Regions from separate parts of the Homo sapiens genome. Here regions 2 and 3 are each linked to region 1. Evidence: promoter capture Hi-C in human tissues and cell types (Jung and others, 2019). All regions are on one chromosome and are shown on one strand. Each heading gives the region's core, a stretch centred on a gene start or on the middle of the fragment in contact. The rest is flanking DNA. Distances are from core to core; before and after follow the strand shown. Region 1 holds the start of SDCBP (syndecan binding protein). Region 2 overlaps NSMAF (neutral sphingomyelinase activation associated factor). Region 3 has its middle 5.9 kb from the start of CYP7A1.

What was found. The method cuts DNA at HindIII sites, captures the fragments that hold promoters and counts their contacts. A contact is called where the count stands out against the background at its distance.
Region 2: a fragment that was not itself captured here is called in contact with the fragment with the promoter of SDCBP in region 1 in 1 of the 25 tissues and cell types used here (hippocampus).
Region 3: a fragment that was not itself captured here is called in contact with the fragment with the promoter of SDCBP in region 1 in 1 of the 25 tissues and cell types used here (stomach).

The regions. Positions count from the first base shown.
Region 1 is chr8:58,551,372-58,554,974 of GRCh38, forward strand. SDCBP (syndecan binding protein) reads left to right here and starts at 1,890. Exons shown (of 9, transcript NM_005625.4): 1 at 1,890-1,932. RefSeq lists enhancers at 1,463-1,642, 1,549-2,266 and a silencer at 1,743-2,272. The HindIII fragment of the contact is 17,033 bases long and covers 1-3,603 here.
Region 2 is chr8:58,607,898-58,611,500 of GRCh38, forward strand. NSMAF (neutral sphingomyelinase activation associated factor) reads right to left here. Exons shown (of 31, transcript NM_003580.4): 10 at 1,707-1,836. Among named protein-coding and RNA genes, the nearest start is that of NSMAF, 50 kb to the right of the region's middle. The HindIII fragment of the contact is 5,427 bases long and covers 1-3,603 here.
Region 3 is chr8:58,504,234-58,507,836 of GRCh38, forward strand. It overlaps the pseudogene PPIAP85. Among named protein-coding and RNA genes, the nearest start is that of CYP7A1, 5.9 kb to the left of the region's middle. The HindIII fragment of the contact is 5,298 bases long and covers 1-3,603 here.

The DNA.
Region 1 (3,603 bases), core at 640-3,139:
TCAGAGATGTGAGAAATAAATTTCTGTCGTTTAAGCCACCCAATCTATGGCAATTTGTTACAACAGCCTGAACTAAGGTACTGTTAGGCCTCTGACTTTGTTCCTCTCCTTTGGTATTGGTTTGGCTCTTCTGGTCTTTCATTTTTCCATATAAACTTGAGAATCAGTTAATATCCACAAAATAACTTGCTGGGATTTTGATTGATTTGATTTGATTGTATCAAATCTATAGATTAAGTTGGGCAGAACTGACAGTTAAATATCAAGTACTCCTATCCATGAAAATGGAATATCTTTAAATTTATTTAGATCTCCTTTGAACTTTGTAGTTTTTCTCATTGGAAGTTTTTTTTATTTAGAATTTTGTAGTTTTTCTTGTATAAACCTTTTACATATTTTGTTAGATTTATACCTAAATATTTCATTTTATTTTGGTGCTAATGTCAGTGGTTATTGTTTTTAATTTCAAATACCAATTGTTTATTGATGGTATATAAGAAAACAACAGACCATGTATGCAGGTCGACTATTCCTAGTACAGAAATCCAAAATATGAACTACTCTAAAATATGAAACTTTTTGAGTGCTGACATGAGGACCAAGGGAAATGTTCACTGGAACATTTTGAGTTTTGGAGTAGGGATGGTAAACCCATAAGTATATAATGCAAATATTACAAAAGCAAAAAAAAAAAAAATCCAAAATTGGAAACATTTCTGGTCCCAAGCATTTTGGCTTAGAATGAGCCTGTTTTAAACTTGCTCATGCAAACTTGCTATAATTGCTTTTCATTCTGTTTTTTTAGGCGAGGAGTGTCAATTTTTTCCGGATTTTCTATGTTAGATAACCATCTCATCTGAAAGCAAAAAGTTTTATTTCTTCCTTCCCAATCTACCTTGTAATTATTTTTAAATGTCCATTTCATCAGCCTAACTATAACCTTACTGAGAGCAAAGTTTTCATCTTTAGTTGTCACCTCTTTTACACTCAGATTTTTATTAGTTTTGCCATATATTAAATTATTCTGGCACTAATTTAGCTAGAAATAAACTGCTTGTAAATGCTATTTTGTCAAGGACTCTACAGTATTCCGTGGTAACTATGATTACTCTTGGGTAAACTGTGCCTCAGTTTCTTTGTCTGTAATGGGATGTCTTTATAGACTGATGTGAAGACCAAATAAGACTATACATTAAGTTCGTAGAGCTATGGCTGGCACAAAATCAGCCCTCAAGAAATGATCGTTATGTTTTTTTACTGGGAAGCAATTACTTTTGCGCAGCACCACACCTAACTCTCAATAGCGAAGGAATATTAGCTTAGGCGGACAGAGTAATACGCCCCCCACCCCCAACATCCAAATTTCCAACAGAAAAATAAAGCAGGAGTTGAGAAGGGGTCGTGAGAGGAACGTTTCTGAGCCTATAGTGGAGAGGTACAGCAAGCGGAGAGTGAGACTAGGGCAGCAAGTGGTGGAAGTCGAAGGCATCCCAAGAGGGAACAGGGGCTCCCGAGACCTCTTTGAATTGGAGGCGACGAGAACCAAGCGACCGTGAGCTGCGATGCACACAGTAGTGAGTGGGTGGCACGGGGCCCGCGGGCACGAACAGCCGAAGAGCGGAGAAGACTGGGAGCATAACCGCTGGGCAGCGGGCAGCGGACAGCGGGCGGCATGAACCGCCCCACTTTGCCGGATACCTGGAGCTGCAGGAACGACCCACACCCAGGCCTCTTTACCCCTACCGCCCCGTTACCTTGGGGACGGGATCACCCGACCCGGCGCCGTGCGACTGCGCGGGCTGAAGGCGGGGGCGGTGCCATGACGCGCCTCGGGGGCGGTCCTCGGGCGCGCACCGCTCTCTTACACTCGGGCCTCAGAAGTCCGTGCCAGTGACCGGAGGCGGCGGCGGCGAGCGGTTCCTTGTGGGCTAGGTGAGAGGCCAAGGGGGCAAGGAGGGACGCCGGTGCCAGGTCCCGGGCGCGGGGACTTGGGGCAGAGGTGTGACGGTCCCTGGGCCACTTCACAGACTGCATCCTGGTCGCAGCCGTTTTCGCGAGGCAGCGGCGACGCCCTCTCCTCAGGGGGCTCCGCGCCCCTCCCTGCGCCCTGCTGGCTGGGGGGGCAAGTTTGCGGGAGCAGCGCGCTCTTCCTGCCGCGACCCCGCGCGTTTCGGGTTCCTGCCCGGGCTGGGGCTGGGGCTGGGGCTGGGGCTGGGGCTGGCAGAGCCCGGAGGCCCGGCTGGGTGAACGCCTTCAGCCCCCGCCCCAGCTCTGGGGTTCTTCCTGGGACCGTCTCTCGATCCTTGTTTTCTCCTCGATAAGATCTCGACATAAGAAAGAGCCTCTGGCCACGGTTCCTCCCAGTGCTCGGCGTTTCTAGGGCTGTGCTTAATCGCCCTTCTTTTGGGTTATTCGGAAAGTCCTGGATTTGAAAGGAGGAAGGAAGTGTTTGTTTATTGGGCGAAGCCTTGACTTTTTTGGAAGGGGGTGGGGAGAGGTTGTTCGCTTTGAGCTTTTTCCTGGAGAAGTTGGACCTGAGGGAGAAACGTTTCCAGTAGGGTGTGTTTAGAAGGAAATACCCCTGAGATCTGACCCCTGAGATATGATGACTCAGAGCCTTCCTTTCAGGATTTCCTTGTAATAATGGGAAAGGGAAGGCATATGGATGTGGAAAGTTTTCACTTTTACCAAAGTGGTGATTATTGAGTCATGGAGTCTTCTAATGTGTCCATTTTTGAAAGGAGTTTGTAGATTATCTAGTCTGTATAACCACATACACATTTACTGTTATCTTTTCCATTACGTACATTGCTTAGAAAGTACGCTCGGCTTACCAAACTCTTAACATCCGCTTGTTTCAAAAAGAAATCGTTGATTAAAGCAGGAAATTTACCTTGAAAAACAACTGCGGGCCTTTTAAATTAAATTGATTTCTAAATGTGTATGTGATTAGTTAAAACTCAAATTTGTTCAGTCTTTTTATTTTCCTGTTTAAGATTGAGGGATAACGGTAGAAAATACGTCCTTTTGTCTTCTGTGTTACCAACTTAATTCTATAAAATTTGTGCCTTAAATGGTACATAAATATTATAAATCTAGTGGTTTGTGGCACAGAATAAAAAGAAGTAGAATGACTTTTAAAATGGTCAGTAAATAGTCACTCCATTATAAATTAAATTTAACTTTGGAGACATTAACTTTTAGTTTTGGGCATTATAGGAAAAGATGTAAAAAGGGGAAAAAGATGAACAAAAGGGGAAGAATTTGCTAATGGTTGCCGGTTAAATGTACTGTTTAATTAAAGAGTTTCTTAAAATGAGCGTGACAACTATTTTCCCTGTTTTTGCCAGATTTGGGAACTTTTTATAGGTATTAAATGCCAAGAGATTCTAAAAAAGAAAAGCGCCCCCAAATAACTTTGAAATACTTTCTACTTTTAGCAATAGTTACGTTAGCATTTATTAATTTCTTTTCAAGTGCTGCCAACATGTTTTGTAAATGTATTGTTTTTGAGTAGGTAAACAGTCACTTGTCTCAAAATTTAAGCAGCATAAAAAGGTATAAAGTAACAAGTCTTCTGGCAGGCAGGCAACTTTTTTACAT
Region 2 (3,603 bases), core at 694-3,193, 57 kb after region 1:
TCTATAGTATCAGAAAGGGGAAAAAAAAATCACCAAATCTTGCTTTCCTAATAAACCATTGGAAAAGGAAATCTTGGAACAAGGTGATATCTGGTTTCCCATTCTGCTCTGCCATCTTTCACTAGCTTTATGACCTTGGGCAAGTCTTCCTCCCCGCCATGTGGCACCCTGCAAATGATAATGCAATCATCTATCTTTCAGGGATATTTCAGGTTAGTTTGGGGTGGGGTGATATCTTTCAGGTTAGATTGTGGGGTGATAAGAAATATAAAGAACTGGCATAAATAACCTCTCAGGAATCTTGCTATCTTTTTTTAGACAAATAGTTTGCTTAGTACTGACACACATCTTTTTTAAAGAATCCTGTCTTTTATCTCATTAAAAATTACAGTGTATTAAGGCTCACAGATTACTAAAGTATAAAGCAAGGCCTCTGAATTTTTTCTTTGTTAATGAAGAAGAAAATTGTCTTGCTTTTCTATAATTTTAAAACACTAGTAAGAGAGAAAGGAGGTTTAAAAAGGCAGAGATTGGCTAATGGCTATGCTTCCGTGGTCCTCCTCCCAAGTAGGAGGGAAGATGGGTGTGCAGAGGTCAGTCTGTCCAACAGTGGAAACTGCCCCGGAGTCCCAGAGTCAGGTCTTGGAAATGACTGGTCAAGGATCCTGGCCAGTATTGGGAAGGGGTAAAGGCCCATACCATGGATTGTGAAGCTAGGGTACACAGACATTTTTTCTCAAAATTTCTGACCCAAGCAATAGTAGCAGCCAAGCCAATTTTTTACACTCCCTGAGAATGCTGTGCTAGCAGCATGCAGTGTCTACTGGAGAACTAGGAAAGTGAGCCCCACCACCTAGTGGACACAATCACTATAGCATAATCTTTCACTCAGGAGAGTTTGAGATGTTTTAGTGCCCTGTAATGACCAGCCTGGAGAATTTCCAAGGTGGAACTTTCTCTGGCAGAATTCTTGGGCCCTGCCAAATGGCCCCACAGCACTACCAGGGTGTGTTAGGATTTCTGTTCTTTTAATGGATCATGCTAAAAAGTGGCCAGATCTAGATAAGCAACAAATCTTTACAAGTTTCAGCATGGATATCTAAGTTTATATTTATTTTCTGGCCTTGTAAGTCTGTGTCATTGTGAAAGAGAAGATTGTTTCCAACATCCTAGCAGGAGCCCATAACTGCCAGACGGCAGGATCTCCACACACACCTCTGCACTAGCTGGGAGGACCTGCTCATAGTGCTCCTTCAGGAAAAATTCAGATCTACTGAGGTTGTTCATCATTAAGAAGAAGCAAGAAATACCAACATCTGTGTATATATAAGCAAATATATTTCAAAATCTATTTCTTATTAATCATAGTATATTTCACTGGTCTCTAGGAAATGCCTCCTAGAAGAAAGGTCTAAATCTCTAGCGACCCTTTACTAAAATAGGGAGGAGCAGGGTTTCTTTTCACCACACTGAGAGCAAGTGCCCCTGACATGACTGAAAACAGATCAGAAGAACTCAAACTTCAGAGACTACACATCACGATTACACACGGTGTTTGTAAAATACACAGATGCTGCCTGTGAAGGGGGTGGGCAGGGACATGACTTGATCCTCATCAAAAAGTGAGGTCCCTGGCATTGTGAGGCCATGGTCTGGAAACAGCTTAAACATGGGCAGCTCCCCACCTGACCCTGTGGTCTACACACCGGGTAGCCGTTGAGGGGCTGAAAATACAGGTTTGTGTCCGTGATGCACACGTGTCCAGGATTAGTCACCAGAGGCGTCACCATTTCTGCTTTGCATTCCATGTGCAGCTTTTCAGAAATGTTTTGGAACCTGAAAATAGGTTTTTCAGCAAAAGTAAGAAAAATCAGAAATTGATCTACTTTCTAGGTTTATCTAAGGGAGCTACAGTGTGACTTTCTATGACATTTGTCTAAACACTACATTTAATATAAGAAAAATGGTAATATAAATTGATTGCTTAGATAAAACTGACTCTTTAGAAATGGCATGATAAAAACTCATTTTTCAAAGAAATAGGTGAGATTATCTACCACAGAAGCCATGACAGACAAGTAAATAATACCAAATAACCCTTAGCTAAACTCATTCCCCCCAAAATAAATAGGCCTTGAAACTATTCTTACATTTAAATTATTTCCTATTTTTCTGTCATTATTTTTATCATCCTATAAACCATTTTGACACAAGTGGCATTTATTTCACACTACACTTTATAAGGCTCTGACTACATAATTATAATTACTTGAATTATAATACATTTGAGTAACTGTATATTCCTTTGTATATTTTTGAGTATATCCCTCTGTGAATTTACTGCAGAAAACCTCTGAAAAATGATCTCTTCACTACTCACTCCTAAAATATTTAATCAACAAAGTCCCTTCTCATTCTGCTTTAACTGATTTAAGAAAAAATAAGGGAAAACAACCAAATCATCAACATTTTAAGGCAATTACTGAAATAACTGGGTTAAAAATAAATCTCTTTATAAGTGACAGGACAAAAAGATACAGAGGAAGATCTCCACCTCAAGTTAGGATGGGAAAGCTGTAAGAGACTGTTGAAGCTTTCACCCTAACAACCAAAATGAGCTGGATATACTGAACAATCTTCATAGCTTTTTAAAACCGACTGGAATGTTGAGCATGTAAAGCAACCTAAATGAACATGATTGCAAAAAGGAAAGAAGAGATCAACAGGTGAGTGGCAGGAGGAGGAGCAACCTATGATAGAAGTGAGTAAGGGCTGCAGAATGAAGAGAGATCTTCAGGGAAATGGAAAGCCAGAGTTGAGACTGGAGAGCAAAGAAAGCTCCCCAGAGATCCAAAAATGCTGTCGACTGAGGTGCAAAACAAGGGAAATCTCCCACAGTTCAGAAACCCGATGGCTCAGTTATAAAGCACAAAGATATCTCTAGAATCCTTCAAGTGCTGAGATCCCAAGTCCTGTGGAAGAGAAAGTCTTTATCACTCCCTCAATAGAGTTGTAGGCAGTGTTGGCTTAAATTTAACCACAGGTGCAACAAAGTCTTAATGCAGCTCAGTGACAGATTTGATTGACAGAGCCTCCCTGTACAAGTAGCCTGACAGAATAAGAGGTGGCTTGACCACTTCTGGAGGTAAATATTATTTAGTTCGGTCTCAACACTTCCTTTTTAACAAACTGCTCAATAAAAAAATTACAATACAATAAAATTATAATGCATAACAAAGAAGCAAGAAAATATGACTCATGCTCAAGAGAGAAAAGACTCTATAGAAGGTGTGTCAGACATTGGATCAATCAGAGGAAGACTTTAAGATAACTATAGTAAATATGATAAAGGATCAAGAACAGTCTAGGCATGTTGGCTCACACCTGTAATCCCAGCACTTTGAGAGGCCAAAGCAAGAGGATCACTTAAGCCCAAGAGTTTGAGACCAGCTGGGTAACATACTGAGATACCATCTCTACAAAAAATAAAAAATTAGCCAGGCATGGTGGCATGTGCCTGTGGTCCCAGCTACTCAGGACGCTGAGGATCACTTGAGCCCGGGAGGATGGGGCTTCAGTCAGCCATGATTATGCCACTGCACT
Region 3 (3,603 bases), core at 374-2,873, 47 kb before region 1:
GATTATGAAATAAAACTATATAAAGCTAAATAAAAACTAAATAACAACTGTCAAAAAAAAAAAAAACTGTGAAATATATTCACAACCCTCCTCACCCCCTCTCAGAACATCACAAGCTCCTTTCAAATGTAGATTGGTCAGTGTTTATCTAGATTTCCTTTACCCTAATATTTTTACTCCCACACTTACAACCCCTCTTCTATACAACAAAAGCACAGGAAACATACACACCCAGAAAAGCAGAGTCTTAAATATTCATATTTATTCATTTTTCTTATTATACGTAGTTTATGTTTTTCCTTCTCAGGATGTCACTTCTTGCTGCTGTCATGTGTCCACAAATGGTACTTATCACAGCCCAAATGTGCTGCTTTTAATCCAACAGGTGGAAATTCATATGCTTGTTACAGCTGTCAAAACTATTAATAGACTGTAAGGAAATACTAAAAGATTTCCTGATGAGTGAATGGATTTTATGACAACTGGATGTGTTTTTAGCACAGCGCCTGGTGCATCAGTTATTGAATGAATGCTAGCTCAATGGCACGTCCTTTGCCTGCTTTTCTCTTCTCTTTTTTTCGGCTGGTAAAGTTTTATTTATTCTCTTTCTCTATGTCTCTGTCTCACCATCTTTCTCTCTGTGTGTCTCTCTTGTTTCTCTGTCTCTCTCTGTGTCTCACTCTCTCTGTCTCTCTCTGTCTGTGTCACACACACACACACACACACACACACATGCTGTACCTCTACTACATGCCAGGCTCTGAGTCAGCAGTGGAGACAATGTGAGCAAGAAAGCCCTGAGCCCTGGCCCTGTGGAGTTTCCACTGCGTCAGGAGAAAGCGTAAGTGCCCTGACAAAGAAAAGAGGTAAAGTTGCCAGAAAACCTGGCAAAATAAACTGAGTTCTAATAATAAACTAAATTCTAATCCCACCACAACCTGTTAGTTTCCTCTTGTTTACATAGAGTAGTGAAGAGGACCACACTTCCTAAAGTGTGGAAGAAATACTTATTCCGGGCCTCAGAAAATATAAAGCCTGAATCAAATATCTCAACCCCATGAATGGAAATATACAAAACATAGAAGCTCAAACCAGAGGAGTAGAATGTAAAAAGAACAACTAAAACTATGAGCTTATGTAAACCCACTATGGTTCAATGAACATAGAACACACACATCAGTTTGATTGCTTTAAATAAAATGAACTGAGAACATGGCCAAAAAATTGAGTCAAACCAGTTGCTTTCCTGAATTCACAAGTTAAACCACCTCTCTGTAGTGGGACACAGATTGCCTCAATTAAGAAAGCACTTTGCATTTTCCAAGAGCATCACAGAGCTGTACTGAATCAAGACTGTATATGAGGTTTCTAAGTCAGGGCAAAGTAATGGGAGTCTATTGTGGAATGGGCTGGTGAAGTCTTGTCGTGATTAATTTGGGGCTTTCATAATAAACACATTCGAGCCACATTTTCATGAAGCCATAGGGAAAGAAACCAGTTATGGCAAATACAAATATAGTTTTGCATCTTAAATACATGGTTTTGAGATTGTAAATGCCTAGCAGGAGTAGAGAAAAAGAAGGTGTTGACAAATTCTAAAGGAATCATCATAATTTTTACATTCATTTTGAGGTTTTCACATTTTAAAAGCTTCTCTTGTATTTTTCTACTTTAATGAAATAACTAACTTGGGCAGGACAGGTATTTTGACCATGTTAAAGATGAGGAAGTAGAGGCAAGAAGGTTCAGTGGGAAATATTACATAGCTTGAATTAGTTCGAATGGTAGATGAAGAGGAAGCTGCAATTAAATCTAGATTTGCATGTTGGCTTGGCCATTAAGTATTTACCTTTGAACAAGATGCTTTTCCTCTCCAAGTCTTTGCTTTCTTATCTGTAAAATGGGGATGATTATAGTGCATGACTCATAGATATTAAGACGAAATAAGACAATGTGTGTAAGACAGTTAGCCTAGCACTTGGCACAATGTATGCTCAAAAATGTTTGCTATAGTTAATAAACTGGCAAATCCAGGATTCAAGCCCAGATTGCTCTGAATTGAAGTGTGATAGTCCACCTTTACAGCACAGTACCTCACAAGAAGTACAGGGGATTCAAAGGCCATCTGACTACAGGTTTAGGAAAGGGTAAACACACCACCAACTGGGTATGAATAAATCATATGCATTTCATTCATTCATTCATATGAACTTAATATGTACCTTATGCAAGGCACCTTTTAAGTGCTGGAGATGCAGAGATAAATAAGACAGGCAAAGTCGCTGCCCTCTAGGGGACATAGCTAATCAACAGGAGAACAAATATATTGATTTGATTTCTGACAACAAGAAACCACCATTTTTTACTATCAGAAAAAGTCTGACCAATGCATCAATATTCAGTGTCAAGATCATCAAAAACTTGCTTCATTTAATCCACAGGGTAGCACCATGAAGCAGGCACTGTTGCCTCAATGTACAGATGACTGAATATGGTGAAGCTCTGGCTTCAGGCCCAGGGCAGCCCCTACTATGCGGTGCTGTAGCACAGGAAGAACTCCATTCATCCAAGTTAAAGACAGGCTTGGGGGCCTGGAATCAAAGAAGGCTAAGTGGTTCCTTTACTTTTGTGATAAGTTTCATCCCAGTCTCAGCCTTCTGAAACTTAGTCCAAGAAGCCCAACTGGTTCATCAGACTTGCTGCGACCAATTAACCTTGCCAGCTCAGGGAGAGAGAGAGATAGAGAAGAGGGCAGTCAGGGGGAGGGAGAGAAAGAGGGAGAGAGAGAAAGATAGTGGAGCTTTTTTCCTGAATGTGAGCAATCCTGGCTCCTTTTATCTCTCCGATGTCATGGACATATTTCCAAAAGGACATATTGAAGGAAACCAAATCTTGAGCCATTGAGGAAGCTGGTCTTGTCTTCTCAGGCCAGCACAGGGCAGTTCATTAGCTGGGGTACTATTTTCACTTTCCTGACTTTCCCTAGCTCCTAGGAGGAAGGCTGAGGTTCTTAGACATGGAGCACAGAGAGAGTAGAACAAACCTCTGTATGTTAATGGCCCTGGAGATGTTCTTCAACTGGATCACTTGCTGAAGTACTATTTTCCCCTGCAGATAATGAGATGAGAAAGAAGACTTTTCCCTATAGGCTAACAGAACAAAAGGTGGTGAGGAACCATGAAGAATGTTAGCACCTTGACCTCTGACTTGCTCCATTTGTTCTGTTGTAAAAGGCAAGTAAGTTCTGTTGTCTTCTTTCTGACATTTTAAGAAAATGAGAAAACATTTTTGGAAATACATGAGGAAAGTATCGCTGAAATGTGTGGCAGAGCCTCTACTGTGGGGCCAGGGTCTTCACATACATTGTCTCATTTAACCCTTACAACAATACCATGAGAAAACAGGAGGTCAGAGTTTCAGCAACTTCCCAAAACTCAATTCACGGGAGTTGCAGATCTAGGATGCAAACCCAGGGCTCTGGGACTCCACAGCTCACATGCATGCCCTTTATATTTCAGATTTTCTCTCCTAGAGCTCCAGGGCTCCCTGTTGTGGTGGGGGAGAAAGCCAAAGGAGAGGCTCTGCCCACTGCCCTCTTCTGCT